Regions from separate parts of the Homo sapiens genome. Here regions 1, 2, 3, 4, 6 and 7 are each linked to region 5. Evidence: promoter capture Hi-C in 16 types of primary human blood cells and fetal thymus (Javierre and others, 2016). All regions are on one chromosome and are shown on one strand. The core of a region is centred on a gene start or on the middle of the fragment in contact, and the rest is flanking DNA. Distances in the headings are between cores, read along the strand shown. Region 1 overlaps CAPN7 (calpain 7). Region 2 overlaps CAPN7 (calpain 7). Region 3 overlaps SH3BP5 (SH3 domain binding protein 5). Region 4 has its middle 10 kb from the start of CAPN7. Region 5 holds the start of COLQ (collagen like tail subunit of asymmetric acetylcholinesterase). Region 6 has its middle 51 kb from the start of RBSN. Region 7 has its middle 39 kb from the start of CAPN7.

Region 1 (2,783 bases), core at 115-2,614, 310 kb after region 5:
ATGTTGAAATATCTAGCCCAGTGTTTCTCAGCCTGGCATTATTGACATTTTGGGCTGGATAATTCTTTGTTGTGGGAGACTTTTTAGCAACAGCCTTGGCCTCTACCCAGCTAAATCCCAGAAGCATATTCCTTGCCACCCAGCAGCGTGAAAACCAAAAACTTCTCCAGAAATTGCCAAATGTCCCCTGGGGGGCAAATTGCTTTCTACTGAGACCCATTGATCTAGTCTAAGATTTCACAGCTACAAGTGAAAGGGTAGAGACTCAACAGGGATCTTTTAATTCCAAGTCTTGAACTCTGTACTACGACGGTTAATTTTACTTTTTATTTTTCGAGACAGGGTCTTACTCTGTCATCCAGGCTGAGGGCAGTGGTGTAATCACGGGTCAGTGCAGCCTCAACCTCCTGGGCTCAAGCAATCTTCCTGCCTCAACCTCTGAGGAGCTGGGACTACAGGCACACACCACCATGCCCAGCAAATTTTTTCAATTTTTGTAGGGGTGAAGTCTATGTTGCCTAGGCTGATCTTGAACTCCTAGATTCAAGGGATTCTCCTGCCTCAGCTTCCCAAAGTGCTGGGATTACAGGCATGAGCCACTGTGCCGGCCTATACTGGTTAATTTTAAATTATGTTACCTTTCCCCACCCCAAAATCAACTCTCTCTCAGGATTCTCTTAACTGTCAGCAGACTATCTTGTTTTAAAACTTAGGGTTCCTAACAGGATTTTTATTTGAAAAAGGACTTTTCTGCTTAAAATAATAAATAAGAAAATCCTTTAAATTGTCTAGAGATTATACTCCATTTCTTCAACAAAAGCAGAAAGAAGTTGGTAAAACAAGCTATGTTATGCTTTAAAAATCCTTTTTAAGGCCAGGCATGGTGGCTCACGCCTGTAATCCCAGCACTTTGGGAGGCCGAGGCGGGTGGATCACGAGGTCAGGAGATCGAGACCATCCTGGCTAACATGGTGAAATCCTGTCTCTACTAAAAATATAAAAAATCAGCTGGGTGTGGTGGCAGGCGCCTGTAGTCTCAGCTACTGGGGAGGCTGACGCAGGAGAATGGCGTGAACCCCGGAGGCGGAACTTGGCAGTGAGCTGAGATCGCGCCACTGCACTCCAGCCTGGAAGACAGAACGAGACTCCACCTCAAAAAAAAAAAAAAAAAATCCTTTTTGAACTCTATTTCACTGGCAAGTCTTTATTCTTCAAGAGATTGGGGTGTCTCATTTGATGCTTGAATATCACATATATATCAATGTTTAGAATTTATTTCCCAAAAATCACATGTAAGTTTTTAGGCTTAGCTGTATTTAATATAAAGTAAGAATAATTTTTAAAATTCCTTAGAAAAAAATGATTCATATTTATTTTTTCCAATTGTCACAAGGATTTCAAGGGTTTAAAGAGCAATCTTACTGGAATCAAGACCCTAGGGCATAAATGTGCTTGACTGTGTGTACATATGGAAAAGAAAGATGGAAATATACCTTAGGCTGCCAGAGATTCTACTCCTGGAATAATATCACCATATAATCTCTCCTTTCTAGAGCATTCTGCTTTAACATTTAGTCTAGCATGCTTCAGAAAGGGGTTTCCATGATAGTGCAATGTTGACACTGTTCTCTCTCCACACCTGATGAAGTCCTCCTGAGGACATGGACTGTCACTCATCTATTACCCTGTACTTACCATAGAGCCCAAACATGTATTCAATACATAGTTATTGAAATGAAGAAAACTATCTATGAAAAAACAAGGAGATCATGGAAGTAAACATGAAAGACTACCTTCCCTACTTCAAAGATAATTTTATTTGAAAACACTGGTTATGAAACAAAGTTCCTAATATTGGGCAGTTAAATTTAAGAACTTCATTTACTTGGCTGGGAAAAGAAAGTTCCTTTGAATTTTATATGATATTTTGAATACATGAATCAATACTTTGTATCAAGTGAGGTTCCAATAACACAGGCAGTACACTTTTCAATACATGCAATTTCTGGGCACTGTATTAAAAGTAAACCGCCTTGTTTTTAAGGGAACTGTCATAACAAGGAATCCAATGATTAAATCTACTTTATCCCAACGATGTTCTTGTAATTGCTCGTATCTACTCAAAATGAGTGGTAGAAAGTTACACAAAGTCCATGAGAATAAATATTCTTCTGCTTGGCGCTTTATCATGCAGCAACAGAAAAAGAGGGTTAAAAAGAATCCCTACAGAAATCAATGTATTTGTAAATACAATGTCAACATCAGTTACCTCTAACAAAACTGTGACCATTAAGACTATATATTTCTATTATTGTACCTGTTGTGCTGTTTACAAAAATAAATACAAGTAGTTCCAAGTCTCTGTTTACATGTCACTTTCCCAAGATATGGTTTTAAAGAGTTTAGCAAAGGTCTGAAAGTAGAAGACACCGAAAGAGAAGACACTGTGAACCTACTGCTGAAGTCTGTAAACACTGAAGAGGAACAGTCACTTAATTTTATAAGGAAGAGACGTGACAGATATTTTAAAAGCAGACTTTAACTGAATCCTAATCCTAACTTTGCCAATGATAAATTGTTTGAACATAGGTAATTCACCATCTCTGCACTCTGGGAAATTAGGAAACTGGACTATATTGTCTATAAGGTTCCTCTTCAAAGATCTATGACTTATTTCTAAATGACTTTTAAAGAGGTGATTACCAAAAGTGGAATGAGCAGCAACAGAGTGAGCATCAAGATTCAAAGATAAAAATGAAGAAGAGAAACAAACATGGGGGAAA
Region 2 (2,999 bases), core at 6-2,505, 280 kb after region 5:
GTCATACATCGATCAAAAACTGTAAATGGCTGCCTACTCCCTAGAGCTAATAGTGCAGTCTTTCACCGCATGTAGTTAAGTTAAAATTATATAAAATTCAAAAATCAGTTCCTTAGTCACAGCAGCCACATTTCAAATGTTAAATGACCACAGGTAGCTAGTAGCTATAGTGGCTAATGCATTGGGCAGCCCAGATACAGAACATTTCCATCATTGCAGGAGTTCTATTAGACAGTACTGCCTTAGAGCATGAAGTATTTTCTGCCTTTTCAAAGCTCACTCTACTCTGGCTCCACTTTATTTTCCAGTATTTATACTCCATGTACCTTTGGCTCTAATCTAGTTTTTCCTTTCAGAGTGCAATAAAATCCTTATTCAATTTTGCCTCTAAAGGCAATTGATCATGCTGTTCCCTTTTTCTGAAAGGCCCTCTTTGATCCCTTTAGCTACCCTTTCTTCTCAGTGCAGACAGACATAGTGAAGAAAAGAGAAAGGAACATGGACTTTGGGGTCAGAATAAAATGGGACCAAATTCCAGTTCTTTGGGTGGGTCATTTACCCTCTCTGAACATTCATTTACTCATATGTAAAATGAAGATTATGATGTGTCCCTAGAAGATGGCTGTGAAGATCAAATGGAATTAACATAAAGTATCTAGCATTTAGTAATTTCTTTCTTTTAATTACTTTGAATTCTCCAACCTTCATAGTGCTAGCAATCTGTATTACATTAGTTTAAAACAAATAGTATCCTATCTTATACTGTTTCCTACAAATGTAGTCATCTTGTCTCCCCAATGTAATCATCAACTCCTTGAAATGGTAACACTATCATCCCTTTTCAGATTTTCCACTCATTTATGGAACAGAATGTAAAGGTAAATGCTTAGTAAATACCAGGCATGTCTACAGAATTGATTACATTGATTCGGGAAAATAAAAGAGGTGGTAAATCCAAAATAATATTTGTCTTACTGCAAGCAGTCACCTTAGGAAATTGTGTACTTTTTCTAATGATATCATAAATCAAACTGTTTGGAAGACATCTAAACAACCACAACAACACATTCCTTTGCTATTTTAAATGGTGACAAATTGTGGCTGGGGGTAGATGTATGTGATTTCTGGACATAAGACTCATTCCTCTTAGGCTATATTCCCTAGAAGCTTCATTAATACAGTTTCTTTCATCAGTATCTTCTACACTGTATGTGTCTCACCACACATAAGTCAACCGACATTTAACTCTAATTCCTTTCTTTTCAAAAAATTTAACTCATTTCAGGACTCTCAACACTTCCTAAAAGAGGAGCACAAAGGAGAGCAAATTGTTGCTAAGCTTTTCAGAGACAGACCCCCAGCATCAGTGATATTCAAGGACACCAAGATATGGATGTAGATTTTGTTTGGATGGGTAGAGAACCAGCTCTAAAAAGAAGGAATGCTAGAGAACAAAAAAAAAAAAAAAAAAAAAAAATTTGATTTTGCTGAAGCATCCAATTTCTAAAGTTATTTCCAAGTAGCAGCAAAGGAAAAGCCTTGGACAGCTTCAGAAATTCTATGATAACACCTGTCTGAACTGAAGTCAGCACCCTGATCTGGAGATGTAACTCCATAGTAGACTATGAAACATCACCTCAAAAACACAAAAATGACCCAAAGAGAGAATCGCTGAGACTAAAATGAAGACCTTGGAATATGCAAGCAGATTAGAGGTAGTCAAACAAAAATGATAGCACTTTTATGCAAATATTAATAAATATTGAAAATCTCTTTAAGTGAAGAAAGTCACCAATGATGTAATACTGAGCAGAGCTGTCAGAGTCTAAGATTAGGTCTTTCTGCAAAAAAGAGGTCCTAGAGATAAATGCTTGAATCAAATATGGAAATATTTTAAAACAGAAGTCAGAATTGGCCAGGCGTGGGGGCTCACGCCTGTAATCCCAGCACTTTGGGAGGCCAAGGTGGGTGGATCATGAGGTCAGGAGATCGAGACCATCCTGGCTAACGTGGAGAAACCCTGTCTCTACTAAAAATATAAAAAATTGGCCGGGCGTGGTGGTGGGGCGCCTGTAGTCTCAGCTACTTGGGGGGCTGAGGCAGGAGAATGGCATGAACCTGGGAGGCGGAGCTTGCAATGAGCTGAGACCGCGCCACTGCACTCCAGCCTGGGCGACACAGTGAGACTGTCTCAAAAAAAAAAAAAAAAAAAAAAAAAGAAGTCAGAATTAAATAAACACTTCAAAATATAAGTAGCAAAAAATAAAAAATAAAAATAATGCACCTAGGAAACTCCTTGAATATATACCCAATAAAAGAGTACTGGAGAAAACCTTTATATATAAATATACATTTTTTGAGGCAGGGTGTCACTGTGTCAACTAGGCTGGAGTGCAGTGGTGTGATCTCAGCTCACTGCAACATTGGGCTCAAGTGATCCTCCTACCTCAGCCTCCCAATTAGCTGGGACTACAGGCACGTGCCACCATGCCCAGCTAATTTTTTAAAAAATTATTTATTGTAGAGATGGGGTCTTGCTATGTTGCTCAGGCTGGTCTTGAACTCGTGGCCTCAAGCATTCCTCCTGCCTCAGCCTCCCAAAGTGCTAGGATTATAGGGGTGACCCACGGTGCCCAGCCACTTAAAATGTTTTGACTGGCATTTGTGGCAAATTATAATTTTAAAAAACCCCAAACTTATTGGCGTACTTAATTTCACATAATTTTTATATTTTTTGCTTTAAGTGGGCAATTTTTATGCCACTTTTAAAGAAGCAATTCTATAGAGCATGGCTGGGGGGTTCAACACTGACCAGCTAATTTAGAAAGTTCCAAGACTATAAATTTTAAAATGGTGCAATAGGTCCCTACTGTCCTCATTAACTTCATATACAGTCATGCACCATATAATGAAATGTTAAGACAGCGATGAACTACATATATCATAGTGGTTCCATAAGATTATAATGGAGCTGGAAAAGTTCTATTGCCAATTGACAT
Region 3 (2,892 bases), core at 50-2,549, 260 kb after region 5:
GGCCACCCTTACTGCTGGGTATAACCTGTGAGGCTCTGAACAGCCTTCCCACAGAGGAGGAACATGAGCTAAGTTGCAGAGTCCCCAAGATATGTGTGTGTGGGTTCCCCGTGTCTTGAGATGGGCCTCCTGTTAATATAGCCCTGGGTGAGCCCAGTCGTTCCATCTGGTGTCTGTCAGTCTCCAGAGCTAGGAGCATCACTGACATGTCACGGCCTTGTTAAGAGTTTACTAAATATTGGAAGGACGACCTGGCCAGTGGTAGCTGATGCCTCTTGTTCATCTTGTGGAGTTGACTGTGGTCACTGTATTATATTACTCTGATGGCTTTCCTTCCTGTCTTCTGCAGGCCTTATTTTGAACTCAAGGCAAAGTACTATGTGCAGCTCGAGGTATGTGTAGCTTTGGGCTTCGTCACTGATGAGATTTTTCTGCACTCAAAGCTTCACTTTTCTGGGGTAGCAGAGTATCACATGGGCCACTTGCTATAAGGGGAAAGTGGAGAGACAGGCTTTACTGAGTTTTCAGACCTCAAAATTGTCTCGGTTGGGTCTTCAGTGGTCTCTGAACCTCTGTAACTGCCATTCAGTCACCTTCTCTGTTGTACTAGGCCAGTGGTTCTCACAGCATGCTCTTAGGACCAGCAGCATCAGCATCACCTGGAGACCTGATAGACCAGGTCCCACTCTAGACCGACTGAATTAGAAACTCTGAGGTTGGAGTCTAGTGAGCTGAGTCTTAACACCCAAGGGGATTTTGATGCAAGCTCAACTTTGAGAACCACTGTACTGGGAACCAGATGTCTAGACTGTGGGACTTTGGTGTGTCTGATGCCCATTTTTGCTTCCCTGATGGGGTTTGTTCCACCAGTGAGAGTTTTTGGATATTAGAGGTTGTCACCTGGATGGGATCTGGGGATGGTGGTGGCTGATTTTGTCTGGTGAATGAATAGCAGTTACAATGGTAATTAGGTCTTCAGTCATGTCTTGGAAAATTCCTTGAAGTAGAATGATGGGCAGAAAATGTACTTGAACCTGTCATTCAGAAAGCATCTTAAGGCTAGCAGGGTAGTCTTCACTTAGTCTCCTGTTCTCTTGATCAGCAACTGAAAAAGACTGTGGATGACCTGCAGGCCAAACTGACCCTGGCAAAAGGCGAGTACAAGATGGCCCTGAAGAACCTGGAGATGATCTCAGATGAGATCCACGAGCGGCGGCGCTCCAGTGCCATGGGGCCTCGGGGATGCGGTGTTGGTGCTGAGGGCAGCAGCACATCTGTGGAGGATCTGCCAGGGAGCAAACCTGAGCCTGATGCCATTTCTGGTAAGTCAGGGGCTCCACTGGGTATGTGGGGAGATATCAGACTGTGTGATTTGTTTCCCAAGGTCCTCACTTTCTCTGGCCATCAGTGAAAGGTCTCAGAGTTGGGCAGGCCTGAGGGCTATTTCTGGTGGGTTCCCATGTTTTATGGAACACTGTGTTCATTAAGAAGGTACTAAGTGTTCCTCAAAGTCAGGATTCTGTGGTCAAATAAATTGGGAAAATGTTACACCTTCACTCCTCTTTGAGAGTCAAAGTATACATTTGAACATTCAAGGCTGAGAAGTCCTGCAGGAAAGAAGAGCTGTAATCAGATTTGATTCAAAGCTACCTTTACATCATTACTAAGGCATGATGTGGGCAAGGGCCTAACTTTGTATTTCAGTTTCTTCACCTGTAAAATGGGGAGTATGACGCTATCTACTGTATACTATCCGTTGTGTAGGGTGGTGGTTCAGCTTACATGAATCAACCCCTGACACCCAAGAAGCACTCAGCAAATGGTGGCTCTTACTGACATCTGACCATAGAGACCTCTTTTCCCAGGGCCTCCCCCTGGAAAACTGATAGAAGTTTGACTTGGTTTCTGTCATGCTCATCAAGAAAACCCACCCAACGCTGTCTTTGCATACTTCCTTTCTTTTCCTTACCTGTGCAATAATCCCTGTCGGCTCTTTCCCAAGCTCCTTCCTCAGGAGTTAATTCCTTCAACAAATATTTAAGTACTAGGTTCAAGGTAAAGGAAAAGGAAACTATCATTTGAACAACTACTATGTATGAGGTACTTTAATATATACATCATCTCAAACCCTGCATGGAGAGGATCATGAAGCTTACAGAGGTAAAGTAACTTGACCAAGGTCACACAGCAAGTAGTGGAGTTAGGGATTCAATTCAGGTCTGAGCCCATTTTCTGTCCCCAACATTACAGTATTTATCATTTATAAGAAACCTTTATGGAATGCTACAAGGCTGTTTTTAAAGAGAAAGGGGGGGAAAAATGGAGTAGGAAAGTTCTAATAAGGAGTGGGATTGTGGGCAGGCTGAGGGAAAACCGCTAAAGGCCAAAGAGGCTTTGAAACCATGGGAATAACATGTGTCTGGGCCTTGTTACTTTGGTCTACCAAATAATGTGGCTACAGAGCATTGTAAAGGATTTCTGTTCTTTTGCAGCAAATGGTGATGTGGGTAGCCTTTGAGTGTGTTCTTTATGAGATCAGAAGTTACCTGGAGATAACAAAGGTCCCAACAGATGTTCCATGCTGGCCTGTTTCTTCTAGCAGCTCTTGCTTCTATTGCCCTAAGAAAGAAGCCTGAGTCCAGCTGGCTTTGTTTGGGATATGTTACAGAGGACTAGAACCTCTTCCTGTGCACATGAGGATGTATTTGGGGGACTGAGGTGGAGTAAAGGTCCTAATTTGTGGCTGAATTAATCTTCCATTTTTAGGTGGTGTCTGGTGACACTGATTTCTTGGCAGGGTTATAAGGTTATTGGAAGGGCGCTTAATATCCATGGGATCCTGCTGCCAGCTGCTTCCCTTCCAGCTGCTTTAGAGGCTGGTCATTCAGGCTT
Region 4 (2,793 bases), core at 42-2,541, 330 kb after region 5:
CTGATTAATATCTCTAAGCCTCAATTTTTCTCATCTGTAAAATAGGTAGATTAGTAACTACCTCATAAAGTTTTAGAAGGATTGAATGAGATAATGCCAGTAAAGCCTTTAGCACAACACCTGGCACATATGAAGTATTTGACAAAGTTATGTCCTGCAACACTTGACTGTGCTCTTTACTCTTCATGACTGTGTTCTTTTGGGATAATCTGTCAGTGCAGGGGCAGAAGAAATGGTTACAGAACCATTTAACCCTTATCTCATTTACCTCTGAGCTGCTTGGAATTCCACTTCCTGAACTCTGATCATCTTGGGAAACAGAAGCAACAACAGCATCCTCTGAAGAGCTCAGTCATTGATAGGCAATGGGAGTGTTTATCACATCTTTTTCTTATAGTCTCTGAGTGCAGCTTCACAATCCTTTACTGCACCCTTAAGCCAGATGTGTTTTGGAATTTGAAATTCACAGAGAACTCCCAGACAGTAGGACTGAATCTTGATAAGGAACTGGAAGCATATACCAAACTGCATTTCAGAATTTTTCTAGATTATTGCAGTGTGCTTGCCTCTTCCTCCCTTTCGAGTAGGATTTTCCTATAGGGATCATCTTATGCCTCTTATCACTGTGCGTTGGGTGTGTGTGTGGGCGGGGGGGGGGGTGCAGATTGTCTCTTTAACAGAGCTCTAATCAAAAGGAGTGATATTTAAGGAGCTGCACCCAAATGAACCACACCAAGGCATCTCATCTTCACCTGAACCTGATTTAGATGACAAGCTCCTGGACTTCAAGCTGATGTTTTAATAGTTTGAGACTTGAGAATTCTAGGGGTGTGATTTGAATGTATTTTGCATGTGGGAGGCATGAGAAATATGGCCAGAAAGCAAACTGTGGCAGACTGTATTTTACAAATAGGCCAAAAGCTTTATCTTACATCCCACGTGATCTCCTTACAAGGGTATCTTCATGTCCCTTCTTTTAAGCGGTAGGATCTTTGTCCCCTACCATGCATCCTGGACATAACTTTGTGACTGCCTTGACTAATAGTGTATAGTGGAAGTGCTACCATCTAACTTATGAGGCTAAATCATAAAATGCCACTCACTTGTACCTTGCTCTTATCATCTAGACACCTTGGACTGGATGACATAATTTGCATTGTTTTAGTAGTTACAGCTTCTACGTGGCTGATGGCTAAAATAGTATTCACAGTCCTCTTCCAGAGCAGGAACTTGAAAGTGCTTCCACTTCACAAATTCCCAAAGGTTAAATGTATAATGGCATCAAATTAAGGAAGTTTATTCTTTTCAGATGATTGCAAGCTGGTTTATTCAGTAGAAATAGAAAATAAGATTGTTTTCTCCCTTTTCAAAAGAAATTTTGCTGTAGCAGATATTCCTATTACACAACAAGTGGAAATTGTGTTGGTTTATACACAGTTTTTCCCAGGCACAGGGAACCATATTAGTATGAGTAGAATTTAAAACATCAACAGGATGGCTACTACTCAAGCCGGAACCTTTTCAGCTCAAAATAAAACTACGCCTGTCTTGAGAGCAGTTCCACCAGCTCAGACTTCCATTCCATCTACACAGTCTCTGAATGCAATCCAGAATTTCCACGTTATGGTTTTTTTTTTTCATTGTTGTTGTTCTTAAGCTTTTTAAAATTTTTGTATGTGTACTTTTAAAAAAGTTTTCAGCTTTTATTTCAGATACAAGGGATGCATGTATAGGATTGTTACATGGGTACATTGGACCTAGGTAGTGAGCAGAGTAACCATCCATTATGATTTTTTGTGTTTTTATTATTTATTTATTTATTTATTTATTTATTTTATTATACTTTAAGTTCTGGGATATACATGTGCAGAATGTGCAGGTTTGCTACATAGGTATACATGTGCCATGGTGGTTGGGTGTACCCATCAACCCGTCGTCTACATTAGGTATTTCTCCTAATGCTCTCCTTCCCCTAGCCCCCCACCCCGCAACAGGCCCTGGTGTATGATGTTCCCCACCCTGTGTCCATGTATTCACATTATTCAACTCCACCTTATGAATGAGAACATGCAGTGTTTGGTTTTCTGTTCCTGTGTTAGTTTGCTGAGAATTATGGTTTCCAGCTTCATCCATGTCCTTGCAAAGGACATGAACTCATTCTTTTTATGGCTGCATAATATTCCATAGGGTATATGTGCCACAGTTTCTTTATCCAATCTATCATTAATGGTCATTTGGGTTGGTTCCAAGTCTTTGCTATTATGAATTGTGCTGCAATAAACATACATGTGCATGTGTCTTCATAGTAGAATGATTTATAATCCTTTGGGTATATACCCAGTAATGGGATTGCTGGGTCAAATGGTATTTCTGGTTCTAGATACTTGAGGAATTGTCACACTGTCTTCCACAGTGGTTGAAGTAATTTACACTCCCACCAACAGTGTAAAAGCATCCTTATTTCTCCACATCCTCTCCAGCATCTGTTGTTTCCTGACTTTTTAAGGATCGCCATTCTAACTGGCATGAGGTGGTATCTCATTGTGGTTTTGATTTGCATTCTCTAATGACCAGTGATGATAAGCTTTTTTTCATAGTTTCTTGGCCACATAAATGTCTTCTTTTGAGAAGTATCTTTTCATATCCTTTGCCTACTTTTTAATGGGTTTTTTTTTCATGTAAATGTGTTTAAGTTCCTTGTAGATTCTGGATAGTAGCTCTTTTTCAGATGGATAGATTGCAAAAATTTTCTTCCATTCTGTATGTTGCCTATTCATTTTGATGATAGTTTCT
Region 5 (2,939 bases), core at 398-2,897:
ATGACTTCGTAATCTGGGCTGGGCAGTTCTTTCGAGGGTCTCACTTGGGGTCACTCCTGTGGCTGGCATCATCTGAGACCAGGACAGGGCTAGATGTTCCAAAATGGCCTCACTCGCCTGTTGATGCTGCATCTGGGATAGTCAGAACAGCTGGAGGCTGGCTGCTTCCCCCTCCATGTGGCCTCTTCAATAGTCCAGACTTTTTAAAGTGGCAGCTGATTTTCAAGAAAAGGCAAAAGCAGGAGCTGCCAGGCCTTTTAAGGCCTAGGCCAGGAGATGGCACAGTGTCCCTTTAGCCACATTCTATTGGTCAAAGTAAGTCACAGAGCCACCTCAGATTTAAGGGAGGGGAACTAGCCCTGCTTTTTGCTGGGAAGAGTGTCATGCACACACTGGGTTGGGAGGACTTTTGGAGGCCATCTTTGCACCCAGGCTACCATGGCTCCCTTGGGTCTCCTTTGTGCTGTTCCTATGTGCAAGTTCTAATCCGTGTAGGATTCATCCCCATTACCTCACTTAACTTTCCAACAAACCTTTAAAGGGAACATTGTCTCCATTGTATGGATGAGAAAACTGAGGCTTAGAGAGGTGAGCTTGTCCACTGCCACTCAGAGCTGAGAGTCAAGCCCAAGTGTGGTGCTACAGCTGTAAAATATCACTTTATACCACGCCCTGACCCAACTCCACCTTCCCCATAATGAGCACAGGGGCAGGATGCCCACCCCAGCATCCAGTAACTAGCAGACTGTTTCTGAGTTAACTCCTATGAGGCATGTAATATGTAAATTAAAGCAAAATGAACAACTCTGTGAATTATTATTTTGTTTTAGTCATCTAATCATCTCTATAACAGGCTTTTATAAACTCATAAAAGGTATTAAGAATGTGATAATTTTTATTTGAATAATTTTGTCTAGCCAAAGATTAAGTTAGTGATGTTATTTTTCTGAATATAGTTTGATAAAAATCATTCACTTTTCTATACTTTTACTGTTTTCATTTATTTTGCCTTGCATTGAATCAAAAGGTTGCAGCTTTTGGAGAGAGAAACACTTTTTCACAGAGAAAGCTGTTTGGAAATATAAACTACTTCCTTCCTCCTTTTTATTGGATGATTAAAGAAAAAAATTAAAAGTTAACTTTACATTTGTTACACAATGGGTAAAAATGTCACAGGCTGACAGTGGAGGGGTTTTTCTCCATGAAATTCAGTTTGAATCAGGAGAGTTGTTTCTGCCCAGTTCCAAGGAGGTAGATGGTGGCACATAACCAATTAGGAATCTCTCTGCCCTTGAGGACTGCCTCCAGTGAACATCTGAGACTTGGCTGCCTTCTCATCACCTCTTCACTAGCCACTTACCTCAGTCTCCAAAAAAGAAAATTTTGACATCTTAATTTTAATGTGGGCATTTGATATGGAGCTTGAGATAAATATAACTCTCTGTAGCATGGAGACAGTTTAATGGGAAATGGTTGGCATTCTTTCTTGGTAAAGGCATGGGAGACAGGAGAGGTGGGGGAGGGAGAGAGAGGGAGGGGGTGAGGAGGAGGGAGAGGGAAAGAGAAAGAGGGAAAGACACACACACACACAGACACACACACACACGCACACACACACACACAAACACACGCGCACGCAAACAGCAGTGAGGAAGAGAAAAGCAGAGATAAGCAAGGCTCCGCAGCAGCCTCCTTTCTAACTTGACCCTCGCCAGACCCTGGCCAGCATGGTTGTCCTGAATCCAATGACTTTGGGAATTTATCTTCAGCTTTTCTTCCTCTCTATCGTGTCTCAGCCGACTTTCATCAACAGCGTTCTTCCAATCTCAGCAGGTAAATGATGGCCACAACTTTCCTCTCTTCCATCTGTCAGGGGACAGGGGGAGGAAGGAAGATTGTTTTGCAATGTGTCCTGATGTTTTTGCCATTCAACTGTTGGTGGAGGGAGGTTGGAAGGAAGACGGCCACCCCAGCAGCTTCCTGTCACCCGAGCTTGTCTCGGAAGCCCCTTCTGTCCTTGTTCCAACCGGCTCCTACCTGGCTGCTCAAAGCAGAGACACTTTGAAAAATGGTTTCTGCCTCCCCTATTCTCCCCATTTGCTGCATGATTTCATCTTGGTCAGGAATTTGGGAGAGCTTAAAAGAGACAGAGGTGTGCAAGTAATAGAGAAGTGAGTCTCAGATGTTTCTATAAATACATCTCTGACCTCTTCGAAGGGGGCTTGCCTCACAGGGGCTGTTGTGGAGTAAACAAACCTCTTTCCAGACCCAGATAGCATCCATGGCCACAATAGTCCCTCGAAGGGAAAATGCAGGTGGCAGGGGCCGGTGGGGTGGGGGGTGAACAGCGGCGGGGCAGTTGCAGCCTCAGGACTAGGTTTTCCCTTTCTCCAGACCTGTCTTCCTGGGTGCGACTTCCCTTCAGCCTCAGACAAGGCAGCTGGAGGTCCTGAGAGAAGTGAGCTTTCCAGGGAGAAGTGGAGGGGGTTCCACAGTGACAGCCAGGTCTGGAGCTGAGTGTGTCTGCCGGGTATGAGGCTGGGAGATTTGGGGAAGGGGCTGTGTCTGCCAGCCTGCAACCTTTTCTGAGGTCAGCAGCCTGTTGCCCTTGTCTTGTCTGACCCAGAGCAGGGGAAGTATTCGGTTACTAGTATGGCCTATTTAAACCTTTCTGAGGAAACTCAAATGTTTCCGGAGGGCTTGAAGGAGGCAGGCAGACCCTCACAGCCCCCCTCAATTCACCTCAGTGACCCCTGACTCTCCCCAGCAAAGTTTTAGTTATGCCTCCAACATGAGTCTCATAAATACTTCAACTGAGACAGAAATTTCACTATCGCTGCCTTTGCTGGAAACACAGGGAGGGCCAGAAATGCCAGGCTCTCAGAGAGGGCACATCTCTGAATCCAGCTCCCAACTGCTGTCCATTGATAAAAACAGCT
Region 6 (3,048 bases), core at 485-2,984, 370 kb after region 5:
TTTTCTCATCTATGCCACTTAAAGTAGGTCAAAAATGTATATATAAAATAGACATTTATTATAATAAATGCCAGGCAGATCTGCTTTTTAAAGATACAGTTTCTGGAATGCATTAATGATTCATTATGGCTGTTTTATTTTTTAATCAGTGAATTTGAACTAACTGAAAATGTGGTCTGTGTCTAGTGTGCAGGGATGTCAAAGTAGTTGTTAATCATGAGCTAAATTGCAGACAATTTGTTACTATTACTAAGCTATCTATATTTGTAAATGGTTAACAAAATAACTGAAGAGAATCTAAGACTATTCTTACTACAGGTCATTCAGATGCTTCCCTATGTGGCTGAGAATGTGGGAGTTATAGTTAGCCACCAATGGCTTGCACATAACTCTGGACACACCCCTGGGGATATGCTGGGCAAACAGAAGTTATCTATTAGTCATGTCATTGTCTGTGGAGAAAATGTATATTATAGAGAGAATTGTGAGCTAGGGGACTGGGATGTGATAGGGACCATCTTTATTACATAATACAAATGCCAGAAGGATTTTTAAATCCCATGGTTTTTAGTTAATTTTAAATTATGGAAAACCACTTTGCCCCACTGGTGCCTATTTTAAGGTTGATTCATGTATATACCACTGGTTCTCAAACATTTTGGCCTAAGGATAACATTATATTCTTCCCCCCACCCCAACTTTATTGGGGTATAATTGACAAATAGAATTGTATAATTTGAGATGTACAATATAATGAGTTGATATATATGTATACATTGTGAAATGATACTAGAATCAAGTCAGTTAATATGTCCATCACCTCATATAGTTACCATTTTTTTGTATGTGGCGAGAACATTTAACATCTACTCTTTTAGCAAATTTCTAGTATATTATATAGTGCTATTAACTATAATTACCATCTTGTACATTAGAACTCCTGAACTTACTCACTTATAACTGAAAGATTGTACCTTTTAACCAAAATCTCTCAATTTCCTGCACCTCTCAACCTTTACACTCTTAAAAGATTATTGGGAACCTTGAAGAGCTTTTGTTTATGTGGTTTCCATGTATTATTATTTACCAAATTAGAAATTAGAACTAAGAATATTAAAAATTGTTTATCTTATTTCAAAATAACAACAATAAACTCACTAAAGTTAACATTCATGACATATTTCTTTATGAAAAATAACTGTATTTTCCCAAACAAAAAATATTAGTGAGAAAGTAGCATTGTTTAGCATATTTAGCTTACTGGAAGGCAGCTGGATTTCCAATCTGTCTCTGTATTCAGTCTGTGGTGATGTCACTTGCCATGTGGCTTCTTGATAACTTTACCACAACTTGGGAGAGAATAAGAATGAAAAAAAAAAAAAAAGACATTTTGGTGTAATTGGAAAAATAACTTTAACTTTGTGACCCTCCCAAAAGGATCTTGGAAACACGAGGGGCCCTTTGACCATGCTTTCTGAACCATTGGTATCTATGTTGTCATTGCTCCACTTAGAGTGGCACATTGTTTTATTATTCTGAACATTTAGGGTGTTGGAAAATAAGCAGAAATCAGAGGAAAATGTAGCTGCTGAGACCCATGTAAGCTCATCTATTTCTTGTTTTTTTGTTTTTTGTTTTGAGATGGAGTCACATTTCTTTACGTTTACAAGATAATTGCTCAACTTTTCTATTTATTTTTCCTCAGTAAGCACAGTCTTAGGTGTTAGAAATTCATTCAGGAACATGATTGATGGATTTTTGCTATTTTATTTAGAAATAATGAAAATATTCCTTCCCATTTTTATTATGTTTTAAAATGTCCTTTAAGTGTTATTTTATTTTTTCTGCCTGGTCTGTGGTTCAATGAGCCCAGTCAATGTTAGGAGAATGACATAAGGTCTATCCCACCCATTAGGACCATTGACTCCAATTTCAGACAAACAGGATAAAGCAAATTCTTGTCTGTCTGGAGTGAAAGATGGTTTTGTCCCCCTTCTTTACTGTGCCAACATTATAAAACCAAGATATTTTGTAAAGACCCTTTAGTACAGGGCTAGAAATATAGTGCAAGTGACATTTATAATTTTAAATTTTATAGCAGCTATCTTAAAGAAAGTAAAAAGAAACAGGTGAAGTTAATTTTAATAATATATTTTATTTATCTCAATATATCTAAAATATTATCATTTCATTAGTAATTAATATAAAAATTAATAAGACATCTTACTCTTTCTATACACTATCTTCTAAATGTTACTTTACACTGAAGGCACATCTCAGTTTGGACCAGACACATTTCAAGTGCTCAATAGCCCCTGTATTTGACAGAACAACTCTAGTAGGTCTTAGTTTCTTTTTAATGCATTTCTCACAAGAGAAGGCGACTTCACAATGTGTTGTCCTCTGAATGGCTTTTAATGTTGTTGGCTTGAAAAGCTGGTCAGATTGGTCTACTCAACAGCAGAGACATCTCTGTGCAGATGTAGACCAGTTTCAGAATGGGGCCCATAAATTTGGAAGTTCAAGTTGAAAGTGTACAAGAACAAATAACTAAATCATTGTTCCAGTTACCCATAACTTACAGTCCCACTGTCCCCCACAGCTCTCACAACTTAGTTGTGTAAAATAATCATTTTATTATGTTCACAGACTCCGTGGGTAGGGACACTGAAAAAGAAGCAAAAGAGGGGCCTCTTTCTTCCATGCCTGGGGTCTCAGCTGGGTTGACTAGTCTCAGACTAGACCGTCTGGGCTCTAGAAGCAGGAGTTGGAGGACCCACTGCCCCTTCTCACATGTCTGCTGCTCTGGCGTCTTAGCTGGAACTGCACAAGGACAGGTGGAGCTGGAACCGACAGGAAGTACTCCAGCAGGGAGGGTCTGTCCTGAGAGTGAGTGCTCCAAGAGGCCAAGGCTGAAGCTGCAAGGCTCATGACCCAGCCTCAGAAGTCAGGCTGTAACATGGCTTTCTCATGCTGTTGGTTGCAAGCCAGTCACTAAGTCCAGACCAGATTCAAGAGGAGGAGACTTTGACTCCTCCCCAGCATGGA
Region 7 (3,071 bases), core at 107-2,606, 350 kb after region 5:
TTTATTTATTTTCTTCTCAGAAACTATTGTTTCTCACATGAAATTTAAAAAATTAACTTAATACATATAAATGAATGTTAATTTGCCAATCTTTTGGTATAGGGCCAAGGCTTCTTTGAGTATGAGCCCTGCTGATTGGATTTCATGTATTTTCTTTATAAACCATCCAATGTTATGTTATCAATAATTTCCAGTTTCAGTTTCTTTAAAGGAGAGTGACTTTTGAAACAATTCAAAACAGAAACAGAAATAGCTATTGATTTTTATAATCTTAAAAATGCAATCTTTTGTAATGCTATCTAGTACACTGGCAATTTTTTAAAAAATAACTCTTTTATTGAGTCTTTAAAGCAGTTAAGCTGGTTTTCATAGATGCAATAAATCTCTTTTACTCACACTCAAATCCTGCTGATTTGCACAATATTTGATTAATTATGTAATTATAACAACAAAACTGCCATAAACAAGCTGGGGACAAACCCGCCTTCATCTTGGTAAGCTTGTTCTTTCACTGGTTGAAGCGGAACTTCAGGCACTCATTGTTTTATGGGAGCATCACTCATGCTTTACAGAGGGAAGGGAGAACATTGATTTATCTGGGAGTCACTAAAGTGGAGGTTGGTCAGGAGAGTTCCTACTACATACCCAGTTAAACAAAAAAACACACACACCAGAAAAAACATAGTGGTTAAGTGTGTGCACTTTGGCATATGAATGCCCAAATTTTAAATCCTAGATTTGGCACTTACTGGCTGTTATGAAAATCTTTGTGTCTGTCTGTCTTCTAATCTATTTTTGTCTACCCATGCTAGTATTTCTTAGATTCAAATTAGAATCATAGATTTAAATTAGAATCGTTGAAATGTACATAATTGAGGTAAAAATTCAAGGCTGTAATTATGTTTTCAAGGGAAAATCACTGAGCTTTTTTTCTTGTTAAACACTGAGTGATCTGGTAATTTCTTGATTACTTGTGCTGAGGTCTAGAAATCTGAAATATCTAAATAAATTTCTATCTTTCTCTTTGACCTATATTTTTAGTTCCTTTCTCAGTTCTAGGAATGAGATACAAAATTGTTATAATGTGAATTTCATTTCCGTGTGCCTATCTGCCTATATTCTGTGGATGAGAAGGACAGAAGACGAGCACTACTAGTTCACAATATGAAGAGCTGAGAGTTGTTGTTGTTGTTGTTTTTTGATACTGCAGAGAAGCTAAAAAGAAACTTGCAATCAGAAAAAGTAGCCCAAAGTCTAGATGGGTTGGGGAAGGGAGTAGCCTAGAGGTAAATAGAAGCTATGATGATTTTACCAGAATTTTGTCTTGGATGATCACAATGATCATAATATCTACTATTTACTGGCCATTTGCCATGTGTCAGATACTCTGCTAAGCACTTTATGTGTATGATTGATGTGAATGCTCGGCAACCTCCAGACTGTAAGAAATATTCTCTTTCTCTTTTCCCCCAATCTGCTAAGACTGACAAGAATGTACAGTGCAGGCAATATTTAGGGTCCTCGGCTCCTCTTGACAATCCAAGGGCCCTGGATTATAGTGAAGCCTCCTTGGGCTGCTCCTATAGGGGCTAGCTGCAGAGATGCCCTTTCCTGCACGGTGGTCCTTTTCTCTGACGCTGGGTAGCCATGTATGTGTCACCAGTGGATGCTGGAGTCCAGCAAAGTTTGGGTTTTTGCCTTATTTTTCCATAATTTCGCCCCTACTCTCCAGAATTCAGCAAACACTTACCATGGGGTAAATGACTCCTTTCTCTACCCGCTTTAAGCTACATTCCTTTCCAATGAATGCCCCTTTAGGATAGCATTGCCAGATGAAATATAGGACACCCAATTACATTTGAATTTCATTCATATAAACAACAAGGGTTTTTTAAGTATGCCACACATATTGCATGGACCTAGGTCCTCCCACATGAAGACCTGAGCAGGGAGCCCAATTCCCACCTTAGACAACTTCCCTTTCAGCCGAGAAATGAAAAGGCTCTTCCTGGGGCCAAGGGAATCCAGAGATTAACAACTCAAGGCTGGGCTGCCCTTATTGAGAGGGAGTGGAGAAAATATATACATATATTTTTTAGAGGAATCTGCTAGATGACAAAAATAATAAAACACCAGCTACTTTTAACTCTACATCTTTAATACTGAGCTCTGCTCTGTTTACATGATATTACTGTCTTCTCACAATAAGCTTACTGAGTAGGTGTCAACATCCTCATTTTATAGATCAGGAAACTGAGATGCAAGGGGGCCAAGCTTGCTAGTAACCGAGGAGACAGGATTAAATTTAGAGCCACTTGCCCTGGAGGCTGGGCTTTAACACAAGGTGACTGATTTAATTCAGACTCTTTTTTAAAACAATTTCTTCTAAAAAAAAATGGGATACATGTGCAGAACGTGCAGGTTTGTTACGTAGGTATACGTGTGCCATGGTGGTTTGCTGCACCTATTGACTTGTCCTCTAAGTTCCCTCCCCTCAACCCACCACCCCCCGACAGGCCCTGGTGTGTGCTGTTTCCCTCTCAGTGTCCATCTATTCTCAATGTTCAACTCCCACTTATGAATGAGAACATGCGGTGTTTGGTTTTCTGCTACTGTGTTAGTTTGCTGAGAATGATGGCTTCCAGCTTCATCCATGTCCCTGCAAAGGACATTATCTCATTCCTTTTTATGGCTGCATAGTATTCCACGGTATATATGTACCACATTTTCTTTATCCAGTCTATCATTGATGGGCATTTTGGTTGGTTCCATGTCATTGCTATTGTAAATAATATGGCAATAAACAGATATGTGCATGTGTCTTTATAGTAGAATAATTTACATTCCTTTGGGTATATACTCAGTAATGGGATTGCTGGGTCAAATGGCATTTCTGGTTCTAGATCCTTGAGGAATTGCCATACCGTCTTCCACAGTTATTGAACTTATTTACATTCCCACCAACAGTATAAAAGCGTTCCTATTTCTCCACAGCCTCACTAGCATCTGTTGTTTCCTAATTCAGGCTCATTTAATAGAGAATGTTTTAAATTAACTTGTCAAATTATTAA

The links. The method cuts DNA at HindIII sites, captures the fragments that hold promoters and counts their contacts. A CHiCAGO score of 5 or more calls a contact.
Region 1: a contact is called between a fragment that was not itself captured here and the fragment with the promoter of COLQ in region 5, in 2 of 17 cell types (monocytes and M2 macrophages). The highest score is 7.2, in monocytes.
Region 2: a contact is called between a fragment that was not itself captured here and the fragment with the promoter of COLQ in region 5, in 5 of 17 cell types (megakaryocytes, activated CD4 T cells, total CD8 T cells and 2 more). The highest score is 7.2, in megakaryocytes.
Region 3: a fragment that was not itself captured here is called in contact with the fragment with the promoter of COLQ in region 5 in 3 of 17 cell types (M1 macrophages, monocytes and M0 macrophages); the score reaches 6.4 in M1 macrophages.
Region 4: a fragment that was not itself captured here is called in contact with the fragment with the promoter of COLQ in region 5 in 5 of 17 cell types (endothelial precursors, megakaryocytes, activated CD4 T cells and 2 more); the score reaches 8.3 in endothelial precursors.
Region 6: a fragment that was not itself captured here is called in contact with the fragment with the promoter of COLQ in region 5 in 1 of 17 cell types (endothelial precursors); the score reaches 5.2 in endothelial precursors.
Region 7: a contact is called between a fragment that was not itself captured here and the fragment with the promoter of COLQ in region 5, in 1 of 17 cell types (endothelial precursors). The highest score is 7.1, in endothelial precursors.

What each region holds. Positions count from the first base shown.
Region 1 is chr3:15,212,269-15,215,051 of GRCh38, reverse strand. The region is part of intron 2 of CAPN7 (calpain 7); the gene reads right to left. Among named protein-coding and RNA genes, the nearest start is that of CAPN7, 7.4 kb to the right of the region's middle. The HindIII fragment of the contact is 7,625 bases long and covers 1-2,783 here.
Region 2 is chr3:15,237,328-15,240,326 of GRCh38, reverse strand. The region is part of intron 12 of CAPN7 (calpain 7); the gene reads right to left. Among named protein-coding and RNA genes, the nearest start is that of SH3BP5-AS1, 15 kb to the left of the region's middle. The HindIII fragment of the contact is 172 bases long and covers 1,170-1,341 here.
Region 3 is chr3:15,257,261-15,260,152 of GRCh38, reverse strand. It overlaps SH3BP5 (SH3 domain binding protein 5), which reads left to right. Exons shown (of 9, transcript NM_004844.5): 6 at 350-392; 7 at 1,103-1,322. SH3BP5-AS1 (SH3BP5 antisense RNA 1) reads right to left here. Exons shown (of 3, transcript NR_046084.1): 1 at 2,547-2,892; 2 at 1-1,519. Among named protein-coding and RNA genes, the nearest start is that of SH3BP5-AS1, 4.5 kb to the right of the region's middle. The HindIII fragment of the contact is 1,708 bases long and covers 446-2,153 here.
Region 4 is chr3:15,194,775-15,197,567 of GRCh38, reverse strand. It overlaps the pseudogene COL6A4P1. Among named protein-coding and RNA genes, the nearest start is that of CAPN7, 10 kb to the left of the region's middle. The HindIII fragment of the contact is 736 bases long and covers 924-1,659 here.
Region 5 is chr3:15,520,414-15,523,352 of GRCh38, reverse strand. COLQ (collagen like tail subunit of asymmetric acetylcholinesterase) reads left to right here and starts at 1,647. Exons shown (of 17, transcript NM_005677.4): 1 at 1,647-1,833. The coding sequence starts at 1,728. The HindIII fragment of the contact is 3,239 bases long and covers 1-2,939 here.
Region 6 is chr3:15,148,693-15,151,740 of GRCh38, reverse strand. No RefSeq gene overlaps it. Among named protein-coding and RNA genes, the nearest start is that of RBSN, 51 kb to the right of the region's middle. The HindIII fragment of the contact is 4,373 bases long and covers 1-3,048 here.
Region 7 is chr3:15,166,192-15,169,262 of GRCh38, reverse strand. It overlaps the pseudogene COL6A4P1. Among named protein-coding and RNA genes, the nearest start is that of CAPN7, 39 kb to the left of the region's middle. The HindIII fragment of the contact is 1,710 bases long and covers 502-2,211 here.